Linked DNA regions of Homo sapiens: region 1 is linked to region 2. The links are contacts of gene promoters, found by promoter capture Hi-C in human tissues and cell types (Jung and others, 2019). All regions are on one chromosome and are shown on one strand. Each heading gives the region's core, a stretch centred on a gene start or on the middle of the fragment in contact. The rest is flanking DNA. Distances are from core to core; before and after follow the strand shown. Region 1 has its middle 110 kb from the start of TMEM170B. Region 2 holds the start of PHACTR1 (phosphatase and actin regulator 1).

The links. Contacts are between HindIII fragments. The study calls those that stand out against the background at their distance.
Region 1: a fragment that was not itself captured here is called in contact with the fragment with the promoter of PHACTR1 in region 2 in 1 of the 25 tissues and cell types used here (lymphoblastoid cells).

The regions. Positions count from the first base shown.
Region 1 is chr6:11,647,845-11,654,616 of GRCh38, reverse strand. No RefSeq gene overlaps it. Among named protein-coding and RNA genes, the nearest start is that of TMEM170B, 110 kb to the right of the region's middle. RefSeq lists enhancers at 3,276-3,881, 3,882-4,487. The HindIII fragment of the contact is 5,050 bases long and covers 1,065-6,114 here.
Region 2 is chr6:12,711,339-12,718,323 of GRCh38, reverse strand. PHACTR1 (phosphatase and actin regulator 1) reads right to left here and starts at 1,557. Exons shown (of 15, transcript NM_030948.6): 1 at 1,428-1,557; 2 at 581-815. All of the region lies in intron 1 of LOC107984015 (a long non-coding RNA gene), which reads left to right. The HindIII fragment of the contact is 3,467 bases long and covers 1-1,905 here.

The DNA of each region.
Region 1 (6,772 bases), core at 2,340-4,839, 1.1 Mb after region 2:
AGAGCTTGGAGGGTTCAATGATCATTTAATTTAAGCCCCTCTTTTTACAGACAAATGAACACAGGCCCCCAAGAGTTTAGGTGATGTTCCCGTGGGCCCTTATCAAGTTAGAGCAGAGCCCAGGGAGAGAGAGAGTTGAGGTCCTCCGCTCTCTGCTTCTGCCTCCACACTCTGCTTGCTCTGACCAACGTCCTCCCACCGGCGATGCAGAACTTCAAAGGGATGGAAAAGGTGGCAAAGTCACCAGTGAATCTGTGTGATATACATAACTGATGACTTCCTCCTTTAAAAATTTTTTTGAGAGAGGGTCTTGTTCTGTTACCCAGGTTGGAGTGCAGTGACACAATCGTAACTTGAAATCCTGGGCTCAAGTGAGCCTTTTGCCTCAGCCTCCCGAGTAGCTGGGACTACAAGGAGCACACCTCCATGCCTGGCTAATTTGTTAAAATGTTTCTTTAGAGACGGTAGTCTCACTATTTTCCCCAGGATGGTCTTGAACCCCTGACCTCAGGTGATCCTCCCGCCTTGGCCTCTCAAAGTGGTGACTTCAGGTGTGAGCCACTGTGCCCAGCAGCTTCCTCCTTTACAGAAATAAATTAATGCAAAATAAAGGAGGAAGAGAGAAATGATAGCTAAGCAGAGAACATGCAACAAAGTCAATGCTAACATCCACGTGATTGAGCATCTACTGTATGGCAGGTGCTTCACATGCGTTATCTTGAATGGGTGAACATTCTCCAATACAGCAGGGTTCCATCCATTCCACAGGTGAGGCACCTCATGCTCAGGTGGGTAAATTGCCCACCACCGTGTGGTAATAAAAGGGCAGAACACACACATGAAATCAGGACACCCTGACTCCAAATCCTATCACTGTTTCATGTCTCCAGCTGCAGACAACTCTTATGTGAGCCCTGGATAGGAAAAGGAACAGAGTCATGGAAGGTCCACTTAAGTTCTCCTTCAAGCAGCTAAGGAGGTGCTGTCTCTAACAAGCCAAATTAAGATAGGCAAAGTCACCCCAGCAGCTGTTGACTTCAGCATTTGCTTTTAAAATGAGAATTATTGTCTCAGGGTGAAGACTCCGGTTCAAGCATGAGTCATGCACCCCAGCAGACCTGGTTTGTTTTTAGCGAAGTGTGGCCGGGGGAGGAGGGGTTGTATTCACCAGCAAAGCATGTCACAGAGGATGTACACACACACACACACACACACACACACACACACAGACACACAGACACACACACACACACGTCTGCCCATTACAGCTGCTCCAGGCATCTCTCGCCTGACAGAATAGGGTCTGTTTCTGACCCCCACACATCCTTAAAGAATGTGATCTTTGCAGAGATCACTAGCAGGAAATGACCCTGAGGAAAGCCACTTGATGTCATTCTTTGAATGTTCTGCTGTCAGCTCCCAAAACTGTCAGGAATGAGGTCGTAAGTGTCTCCTTCAGCTGCATAAATAGAGGCCACCAAAGGTCTCCAGGAAAGAAAAAAGCTGGTAATCACAGCAATTCACGTGTGGACCAAATATGGCAGCACCGGTGGAAGACAGAGTCATGTTATGACTCACACAAACCCAAGCTGGAATCCCATAGCTGCTGTTTTCCAGGGGTATGACATTGAACTGCATAAATGCCTCAGTTTCCCCATCTGCTTGATGGGCATCAGAGCATCACTATGAGGGCTGAGCCGAGTACTTATAGAAGCAGTGGGTGATATAGGTAGCCAGTGCCTGATCAATGCTGCTTCTCATCCATCCTCCTCCTGCATGATGTGGTTAGAAATCTCCAATGGCTGGGCGCGGTGGCTCATGCCTATAATCCCAGCACTTTGGGAGGCCGAGGCCGGCGGATCACCTGAGGTCGGGAGTTTGAGACCAGCCTGACCAGCATGGAGAAACCCCATCTCTACTAAAAATACAAAATTAGCCAGGCATGGTGGCACATGCCTGTAATTCCAGCTACTGGGGAGGCTGAGGCAGGAGAATCGCTTGAACCTGGGAGGTGGAGGTTGTGGTGAGCTGAGATTGCGCCATTGCACTCCAGCCTGGGCAACTTCCAGAGTGAAACTGTCTCAAAAACAAACAAAAAAAAGAAATCTCTGGTGCGGCTGGGCATGGTGGCTCACACCTGTAATCCCAGCACTTTGGGAGGCCAAGGCGGGTGGATCACCTGAGGTCAGGAGTTCGAGACCAGCCTGGCCAATGTGGTGAAACCCTGTCTCTACTAAAAATACAAAAAATTACCTAGTTGTGGTGGCACACACCTGTAATCCCAGCACTTTGGGAGGCCGAGTCGGGCAGCTCACTTGAGGTCAGGAGTTGGAGACCAGCCTAGCCAACATGGCAAAACCCCGTCTCTACTAAAAACACAAAAATTAGCCAGGCGTGGTTGCGCACACCTGTAATCCCAGCTACTCAGGAGGCTGAGGCAGGAGAATTGCTTGAACCCGGGAGGCAGATGCTGCAGTGAGCCGAAAACATACCACTGCACTCCAGCCTGAGCAACAGAGCGAGACTCTGTCCCCAACTCGCCCCAGAAAAGAAAAATCTCTGGTTCCATCAGAACCAAGAGTGGCCCAACAAAGGGCTGACCAGTCCAGCTTCCTGGTCATGGAGGTCACACTGATGCTAATGGATCAAGTTGGCAAGCTTGACATTTAATGTAAAACTGCTAGCATCAGATTATTTGGGGCCAACGTTCCCCCAGTGCTTAAGAATCACTGTTATAAATTCTTCTTCCTTGCAGCTCTCAGAACTGATCCCTCCTCTCTTTGGCACGTATCTCTGCCTCAGTTCCAGCTCTCAGCCCCCTCCCTGAATCCCACAGCACCTCCCAACTATGTCCCTGCCTTCAATCTGCCCCATCATCCCCAATCCCTACATTGCTGCCAGAGTGAGCTCTCTGACATGTCTGTCTGAGGTGATGGATATTATTGGGTGTCTCTCAGCATCATTCTGTCTTCTTCTTTAAACAGAGACTGGATTTCGTTCAGACACCTAAATCTCCCACCTTTGCCCTATGCTTCTAGGAAAGCTGTCTCTTCTCCCTTTTCCTTGGGCAGGCCTGATTGATCGAAGAGTTAGCCTATCCACTTACCAGTGACTGTTTTAATATTGGTCCATGTTTCAGTTCTGGACAATGTTCTGGAAGGAAAGGTTTGTGGCTGCTTCTGGGAATATTCTTCACTTCTTATCTGCAGGCCATGAAACGTGTAAAATTCTGCCATGACACTATCACACTGCCTTACTCATTTATGTGTTTGGATCCCTACAGAGACTGTAAGCTCATAGCGTAGGCCTTCTCTTACTCTACTCTTCATCCCACTCCTAATACTGGCACATAGTAGACCTTCAAATAACAGTTGCTGAATGAATGAATGAATGAAGGAATGATGTTTAAATTATCAAGGGTGGTGAATCTTCCCAAAGCACTTCCTAACAGACAAAGGGACAGAGATCCTACTCCACAATAAAAGAGCATCCACTTATTGATGATGTTTGCTATAAACTCACATCTGTTGCAGCTGCCTTTTCCAGAACACAATGCCAGGCCAGATGTCAACCTTCTTTCCTAAGTAGGAAGTGTTTCCTAAGTCACATACACAAGAAGACCTCTCTACAGGATGTTATGATTGCCCCTTAAAGGCAGCAACAAAGCAAGGTTTTAGGACACCAGAGTCAGATGCACTTTGAACACCCTGTCTTCTCAGCAGAGGCAACATCATGTACTGGCCTGAATCATCAAAATCAACAAGACAGGTAGTACAGAAGGGTATGAACTTGAAGCAGAAGGGACCCTGGCCTCACCGGCAGGGCATTACAATTTGAAGTGGACATAAAGCATAATCACCAAAGACATTAAATTAAAAATCCTGCCTGCCCCCATAAAGCCCAGAGGACAAATTAGTAGAGTTGTATACAGGCTGCAATGGAATCATTTGCAATTAAGAGCAGTAATTTAGCTTCTGTTCCTGTAATTATAACTGCTCCTGTGTGGACAGACAGATCCCTCATTGTGTCTGGAACAATCGCAGCATTCCAAACATAAAGCAAGCCAAAGTAGCATACCCCAGGGCCGCCTCTTTCAACAAGCTATCGCTCAACAGCCCCCCGGTGCAGCCGGCTTGAGGGCCCAGTTTCCTGCCATTGTTAGCCTGCTGAGCCTGGAATTCCATCCAAATGGGTTTGACCCCTTTGCTAAACAGCAGTGCATATTTCCCTGATTAGTATATTCCTGTGTTTAGATGGGAAGTGGCAAGGTTGGGGGAGGTGAAGGGAGAAAGACAAGGAAAATAATAAGGAAAAACAACTCCATTCTATTCATACAATGATGATAGCAACCTGGAACTCTGGCTTCATCTGCAAGTGTAATATCCGTGCTACTCATGCATAAATAAATATTCATCCATCAAAAATTCTGTGTTATGTGCATGCCATAGACTAACCAGGCTAGGAATGAGCATGCACACCTGACTTCATTAATAAGTAGTTATTGCTATGGGGGGTCTGTTTATTCTAAGAACATGCAGAAAATTATAAACTATAATCTCCTTGTGGTTGTCCTTAATTACGTGAGTTCTGTCCCTCAAGGATATTTCCTTCTGACAATGACACTGAAGAGGGGCCTTTTGGTATTCGGCAACTGGAGTGATTCCTGCATATATAGGACTGCCCTTCTCCACACCACATCTTCTCCCACCGTACCCTACTTCCTGCTGTTTCGTCTAATGCTACAGTTTCTATCCATTCATTTTGCCTTTTATATTAATCTGGAATTCCCTCTTACAGATCACTTCACCATGTATTCCTTAGCAAACATTTTTATCACCACGTTTATTAATGTCTATTTGTTAATGACCCAAAGGCAAAGAAAAAATAATTCACCGTTTAAAGTCCTACGAGGTTATCAAAATTAAAAACATATATGATTTAAAGACACCATCAAGAAAGTGAAAAAGCCCATAGAGTGGAAGAAAAGTTTCACAAATCATACATTTAATAAGGGACTTGTATCTAGAATATATAGGGAACTATGACAACTCAAGACAAATAACCCAGTTGAAAGCAGGCAAGAAGCTGAACAGACATTTTACCAAAGAAGACATACAAGTAGCCAGCAAGCACATGAAAAGATGTTGGGTGTCATTAGCCCCCAAGGATCAATCAAAACCACAATAGGATACCACTGTTACGTGCGGGTCTTTGTTCTTAGAGCTCCCAAGATATGGCGGGCCACTCTCAAGACGGGGGCAAGCCTCTTATTCTCTGACCTGGGGTTCTTGGCCTCACGGATTCCAAGGAATGGAAGCTTGGGCCATGCGGTGAGTGTTATAGCTCTACTAGAAGCCGTGAGTCACAGAAGAGAACCCTGGAACCCAGCAACTAGCGTTCAGCTCGATTAGGACGAACCCTGGGCCCTTAGCCATGCAGGAACAATAGCGAGCCTCCAGCCCGATTGGGAGCGGCAATGGGCGTCTCGCTGGATCAGAAGCACAGTGGACAACCTGACGGATCCAGAGGGGTGGAAGTCAGAGGCGGGTCTGTGACGGCGGCAAACGGCAGTAGTGGACCGCGAACGAAAGCTCAGCTCGAGCCATAACAAACATGGACCAGAAGAGTGTGCAGTTGCAAGATTTAATAGAGTGAAAACAGAGCTCCCATACAATAGGAAGGGACCCAAAGGGGGTTGCTGCTCCCTGCCCGAATGCCTGGGTTTATATCCCGATCATTGTCCCTCCCCCTGTGCTCTCAGGCGATATATGATTTGACTATTTCTTTATCCTCCTGCTTTAGCCTAATTTATATTTTAGTGAGCCCTCTTTACTACCTAATTGGTTGGGTGTGAGTTGAGTTACAGGCCCAGTGTTTAAATGTAGGTGCGGTCACCTTTCCCAGCTAGGCTGTGGAATTCTTAGTCGGCCTAAGAAATCTGGCTAGTCCTGTCTGTCACCACTTCACACCCACTAAAATAACTCTAACAGAGAAGACAGATAATAACAAGTGTTGGTGAGAATGTGGAGACATCAGAACTCTAATATGCTGCTGATGGGAATGCAGAATGCTGCAGCTGCTTTGGAAACCATTCTGCAGTCAACCAGTCTGGCAGTTCCTTGAATGATTAAACACAGAGTTACCATAGATGCCAGTAATTCACCTCCCAGGTATATACCCAAAAGACATGACAACACATGTTTACACAAAAACTTGTACACAAATGTGCATAGCAGCATTATTCATCATAGCAAAAAAGCACAAAGAACCCAAATGTCCATCAACTGATGAAAGGATAAATAAAATGTGGTATGTCCATACAATGGAATATTATTCAGCAACAAAAAGAAATGAAGTATAAATACATGCTACAACATGAATGAACCTTAAAAACATGCCAAGTGATGTAGTCCCAGCTACTCGGGAGGCTGAGGCAGGAGAATTGCTTGAATCTGGGAGGTGGAGCTTGCAGTGAGCTGAGATCACACCACTACACTCCAGCCTGGGCAACAGAGCGAGACTCCATCTCAAAAAGAAAAAAAACAAAACAAAAAAACCCACAAACATATCAAGTGAAGGAAGCCAGTCACAAAGGACCCCATATTATATGACTTCATACTATGAAACATCCAGAACTGGCAAACTGCGGAGACAGAAAGCAGATTAGTGGTTGCCTAAGACTTAGGAGGCATTCTGAACGGCTATTTCTCCCAAGAAGATGCAGAAATAGCCAAATAGGCGTATCAGGGACTGACAGCTAAGGGGTGTGAAA
Region 2 (6,985 bases), core at 308-2,807:
ATCCTCAGCTCATCCTGGGACTTTCGGATTCCCCTGGAGCAGGGAAAATTGCCTGGGAATCCGAGCCTCCACTCATAGATGCCGTGCGTTTATGACACACACTGACATATTTGCTGTACAAATGCTTTGAATTCCTTCCTTTCCGGCGATTCCCTTCAGCACATTTTATAAAGTGCTAGAGGATCGTCACCTGCCTGTGCCTGGCAGGGGCTGATTTTTGAGAAACAATTGTGGTTTGTAGAGCAGCAAGAATGATTGCAGCATTACAGTGATCCCTATATTATCATACACTAGCCTGTCACAAAGCTAATATACTTCCCCAGAAAACATTCAGCCTGTTGGGTTCTTTTTTCAAGCCTATGTAGCCTTTCCCTGATACTCACACAAATGAATTATCTCTATTTCTGCAGAATATTTTTTTGGAAAGAATTAACAAGACAAAGTCATTAAAACCAAGCTTGGAAGTCTAATCCAATTGGTTTCTCTTTCTAACAGTATGTATTTTAATTTAAGAAACCAAGTCCGGTAAGACAAAACTTTTAAAAATACCCAAAGGTACCCCAATAGCAAATATACTTACTGCAAAAAATAAAAATCAAAGGCTATCTGTCAGCGGTAAAACAAGAGCCGTTCCAGCCAGAGTGTCTTTGATCTTGCTAAATATTCCCGGTGAAAGTAAACGATTTTGATTGTTTGATTAGAACAGTGATGAATAATGCATACAGTCCACTGGACTTCCTTTATCAGATAAAATGGCCAGAGCACGTTACCTTAGCAACGGAAGGTGACGCCAGCCTCAGCCTCTGCACCCTCCCCTGCGAAGGGAGAAAATTACCAGTTTCCCGTGTAAAACTTTGGCAGAAAATCATCAAATCCACATGCATACATCATGCAGGGCTATTCCCCAGCCCCCTATCTCTTAGGCAGAGAAGTGCCATAGTCATTAAAAAAAAAACAAAACAGATTTATGTCTTCATTGTTTATTTTCATAATCCCAAATCTTAGTTTGATTTGCAGCTACAAAAGAATAGAATATGAAATGATTAAAAATTTAATATATAGAAAAGTTGTCTAGAAATTTTTGTGGGGGCACCAGTTATTACCCTAATGCTGGCCTAAGAGTGGCAGGGAATGGGGGAGTTTAGGGAAAGGCCATTTTAGCTTAACATACGTTAGACATTCCCCTGTTATAATTAATACACAGAACAGCCACCGGCATCTAGGCTGAAAATAACTCTTCCCTTCTGCAAATCAGTCACTGGAAGAAGCTTAAAAAGCTGTCTGAAATTTCCCAGATTCTGAAAGACATATTATAGCATAGATTTTGTGGGAGATCCCCACTCCCCCCACAACCCCCATCCCCGGCAAAGGAAAATTAGCCAAAAAGATATTTGAAAGGAAGAGTCTGGAAGTTAGCGGATACTCACCGGCACTTGTTGACCCCTTTCAACAGGACACGGTAGAGTACAAAACAAAGCAGTGCGACGCTTCTGAGCCCGCAAGCACAAATGAACAGCTTCTAATTTTCCCTTCAATCTCGCTTCAAGAGCACTGAGCAGAGGGAAGTGATGGATTTGCCCATTTATACTGTGATGAAATGCAACCCTTAAGAAGAGATCTGAGTGGAGCTGCTCTTTAGAACACATTAGACTGCTAATTTAAGAAAATTGAAAGGTTTTGTTTTACTGTCTTTTATGTGTTCTTCTCTGCTACCCCCTCAATTTAATTTGCATTTAAAATTATTCTCATGTCTCCTCAGCTCTCCAAGGTGTGGAGTACTTTCTAATCATGAAGGCTGCTCCAGTAGGGTTTGGTGCAACACCACTTTTATGCTGAGCTGCAAAACAAGGCAGGTAGTCATAATTGTGAGCTGTTTTCTGGAGCGAAATACAGAGGGCACGTTTGATGTCACCCCTTCCCTCTTGCCTGGCTTTCTTCCTTTCCTTGCTTCTGATTGCCTGGTCAAATATCCAGCGCAGATCATGCCAGTCTGCCTAAATGCATTTCTCTCTGTCTGAATGTAACAAAATAATACCAACAACAAAAATAAACTTTGGCTAGTATCTCAAGTTATTCTGGTTTAATATTCTTCCTACCAAACCTCAGTAATGACTTTTAGGCACAGTACTTTGAGATCTTCATGCAGGGCATAGTGATAGCCAAATGCAAGCCCTACTGTGGGTTTTCCACAACCTCTTGCACCCTTTGTTGACCAAGCAGAATTGCTCATTAGTATGGTGTGGTGTACAGTGGGTCAGCTTGTTAAGAAAAGAGCATTTACATTTGATAAGCCTCGGAAGGAAGACCATCAACACCACCCCTGTCCCCCCACTCCCTATACACAGCTCGGCTGGCTGCCCTTGAAACAAACCTGAAAATCCTCTGCTGTTTGTTTTGTGGGGTCTCCCTCTCCCACCCGATCAGAACAGATCAGACACCAAGCCGGTGCTGCAGACAGTTAAGCCTCATGAAAAAGGAAGCTGAAACTACCAATCATATGCCCTTGTAGGAAAGTCAACTATGGACTCTGAATTCTGAAAGCTTTGCTCCAACCCAAGGACTGACTTCTTTAAGGTTACTTTTCTATTCAGCACCCACTGGAGACATGCTGAACACTTGACATTTATAAGAGGAGAAAGCTGTCTTCTGGTTCCTTTTACTTACTGTGAGGTGTGGGCGACAGGTTCTGAACTCGTTATTGTAATTCTACTGAAATTGTAATGACTCATAGATGAGAGAAAGAGAGAGAGAGAGAGTATAAGTCTATGCTGCTGACCAAACCTTTAGGTGAGTGCAAATGAATGTGTGATTGAAGAAAGAGATGCTAAACTGGAAATGTGAAAAATAGAGTTGATTCCCAGGGGGTAGGTGGTGGATTTGGAAGTCAGTCATTTCTGGAGAGTTGACCAAGAAAGAGAAATTTAAAATACTTTACAAAGTGAACAAATAATATGAAAGGGTCGTAATTTAAGAAAACTCAGGAGGGAAAATTTCAACTTAAAGAAATGTATTTGGGGCCGGGCACAGAGGCTCATGTCTGTAATCCCAGCACTATGGGAAGTCAAGGTGGGTGGATCACCTGAGGTTAGGAGTTCAAGACCAGCCTGGCCAACATGGTGAAACCCCATCTCTACTAAAAATATAAAAAATTAGCCAGGCATGGTGTTGGGTACCTGTAATTCCAGCTACTTGGGAGGCTGAACAGGAGAATCGCTTGAACCTGGGAGGTGGAGGTTGCAGTGAGCTGAGATCATGCCATTGCACTCCAGCCTGGGTGACAGAGCAAGACTCTATCTCAAAAAAAAAAAAGAAAGAAACAAAGAAAGAAATGTATTTGGGAAGGGGATGATTATTCATTTGCAAACAGGGACTTACTTTTACTAAATAATTATCACTGTGTTCTGTAGCATCATATGACCAACTTCTGTAATAGATTTTCAAAAAATGATCTCACTCTCTGGGGAATATAGCTATAGATTACATATAGGTGTGTGTGTGTGTGTTCAAAAATTATTTTTAAATATGGTAAAGCATAGTAATGTTCAAAAGCCAATGTCAAAATCTGATTAGCTCAATTCTGTTTTGTAACTTTAAACTGCTCCAAAACAACACTTATAATGGTCTATTGTTCTGAGAAATAATCAGAGAGGAAGGCAAGGTTACATCAAGTATTCAAGCTAACACGTATTCGGCACTGAACAATCCAACCCAAAACATTCTCAAGATTTCAGCTCTGCAAAACTTAATTCAGTGTTAAAATATCTCTATGACCTAGAAATAAAATATTATTTTAAAAATTCCAAAATCAAGTCATATGTTTTACATTGATGGCATTAAAATATGAAAGTGTAGAACTGTAAGGTTGAAACAAATAATCTAGAATTATTAAAAATATGTGAGATGGTAGAGAGATACATACTTTTTTGTTTTTAGTTTGGTTGGAAGAGGATACATATGTGAGTATTCTATACACAAGCAGATGTATTCAATTAATTCAAAACAGAGGTATGCTTCATGATGGAATCTAGAGGCAAGTAAAGATATAAGCTTGTATTTATTTTGGGGGTGTGCTTATTTATTGTGTTAGATGGCAAAAGACCCAAACATTCCAGGAGAGATCACATGATTTGTAAGTAGGTAACTTGCTCTTTTTACATTATGCTGTTGACTTCCATTGGAACCAGCCTGGGTTTATCCTCTTTGCTAAGAGATAAAGCAGTTCTTCTTATTTATAATTTTACAATGAATTTTCCTTGTTTAATTACCTTATATTCCAGAGCTCCCTAGAAGACCATGTTTTATATTTGTGTTGGACTATTGAGGTCTGGCCTTCTACTTAAATGACATCCTGGAGAAGATTCTTTTTCTGCTAATAAACCCAACTAACTTTAACTTTAAAATATTAGAGACTTTCTTAAAGTGTGATGATATGTTGGATCTGTTGGTTTGGTACCTAGATTAATAATCTTTGTTGAAGTGCTAGCGTGCTAGACAACCACAGAAAACAATATTCATTCATTTTTGCAAAGACCTGACCCCAGAATGTTTCAATAGCAGTGGCTCCCTCTGCTTGATAAGTCACTTTACCTCCCAACCCCTCCCTCGAAAGAAATTTCTTTCCTTTTTTTTTCTTTCATTAAAAAAATTAATAGTAACGGGGTCTTGCTATATTGCCCAGGCTGGTCTAGAACCCCTGACCTCAATTGATTCTCCTATCTCAGCCTCCCAAAGTGCTGGGATTACAGGTGTGGCCTCCTTTCCTTTCTTTATAAAGTTTGTCATTAATTGATAGGGGTACTGCAAGTATTTTATCTAAGGCTTTATTCATATTGAAATCTTGATGGCAGAGAAAACATGTTAAGCCATCATCAGTTATTTTGGCTTTAGAGTAATTGAACTTTCAGTTCTTTCTCGTGAATAAGTTTTGATGATACTTAGAAAGCTAAAGAAGGCTGGGAAGACTGGGAAACTGTGTGGAGAAAGAAGTCTCAGGGAAGAGACCTTAATTCTATTCCGTATAAGCCTACAGTCATGTTTTGAGGGCTTCCTTAAGTTTAAGATACCTGGTACTCTGCTGTTAGAAAAGGGCATTAAATTTGTTAGCATCTTCATTTGAACCAGGGCCAAAGCTGCCTTATAGATTCAGAGGTGGATTCATTAATTCTATTCAAGAACGTTGTGCCAAAGGAGTTTCCCCTTGGGCCATCCTCAGTTAGCAGGAAAAGTCTTCACACCAAAACCACAAAGCCCTCTGCTCTTGAAACTGCCCTGGAGACAGCCACGCTGGATGAGGTGCACACTGGACAATATGGTGGGGCCAGGGCCAGGCAGAGGACATCCATTGGCCTCACTTGCTGCCCACTTCTGAAAATATCCTTTCCCTTCTGTTAATACTTTTTAGAAAGGTCAGTTGAGAGAGGAAAGAACAAGAGTTCATATGTCATCTTACCCTTCTGCCAACTGGATTCTAGTAAGTTGATCTTACTTATAATATGAAAATCTTTTTGTTTCAGAGAAAAAAATAGTCAGATTCAGTCCCCATCTCTGTGCCCAGGTCGTTCATCTGGAAATAGGGGAAGGGGGAAATGTTGAGTAAGGAAACAAGAAGTTCTCTAGCAACTCTCTACTTACTATAACTGTCAAATATCTAAATATGAAGACGTTAAGATGACCACCCAATGATGGAGAAGTACATTGACAATAGTAATTTTTTTACATGAATTTTAGGATACATAATAATGATATTTGACTTATTCCCTCTGGCAAGAAAATCACATTGCCCTCAATTCTTTCATTCTCTCTCTCTCTCTCTCTCTCTCTCTCTCTTTCTTTCCTTACTCTCCCCCTCTCTGTGTGTGTGTGATTTATTTTCAACTCTCCTGGAGAAGGCTGACAAATTAGTCACAAGTTCCCTAGTGGGAGGACTAGCCTTTTCCTAGTCCCCCTAAAAATCCAGATAGCAACCCTGAAAATATCCAAACACATATTCAAGAAAGAAAGAACAATAATCTCTAAGAGCCACAAGTCTAATAGACCCTACGTTAATGATATGGCCCTTGAGCCTCCAAAGCACATTGAACAAATAGGACTGAACATAGCAGTGAGAGCTCACAGGGAGGGAGGCAGTGTGGGTCGTATCTAAATAGTAATGGACTTAGGTGACTCATTCCTTTTAGCTTTAAAATACACTGACACATTCTACAGCAAAGTCTGTATGCTTAAATATTAACACTTAATGTTTTTCTTATGTATATGTGCAAAGACATTTGATGCATATCTTTGTATAACAAACAATTATTATTATTCATGACATAGTCCCCAGTTTAATTTGTTGTTCAAAGGTAAATGCTTTTAGGATCTGTCACCTGAAGGCATTGAAGGGTATCATATCACAGGAATTAAGTTTCCAAATCATAATTCTCTGCTCCTCGTGGATTAAAGATAACGGAAGACTCAACTCCTCTCTCCTAAGAGGAATGCCTTTATTTGTCTTTTCTGAAACAAAGAGAACCTTGTTGGTATTCACTGCATTTTAATATATCATAAACATTATCAGTAAATGAAAGAAAAATAATCTGTCATATTTAGCCTCAAAACACTCATTGCTGTATAATGAGCACCAAAGAAATGTTAGCTAATCATTCAGGAGACAATGCGTGAAGTAGTTAAAAATATCATCTAGAGGATCCTAGTTCTGTAGCAGAACCTTGCACGCTAATCTCCTTGGGTCTCAGTTTCCATCTCTAGCAGAGGAATAAAAATCAGGGCCAAATGAGACAACGCAGAGCCTGAACACAGGAAATACATAGGTAGTATTTAACAATAATTTTTGAACAGCCTACATGTATGCAAGGAGTTGAGGGAATAGAGCACCCCTTCCCATCCACTCCAACTGTATCCATCTAATATGTTGAGACATTGCCTCCATCACTCCAATTGCAAATAAGCTCTTAGTCCTCTGAAATTCGGTAGTATTTTGTCTATA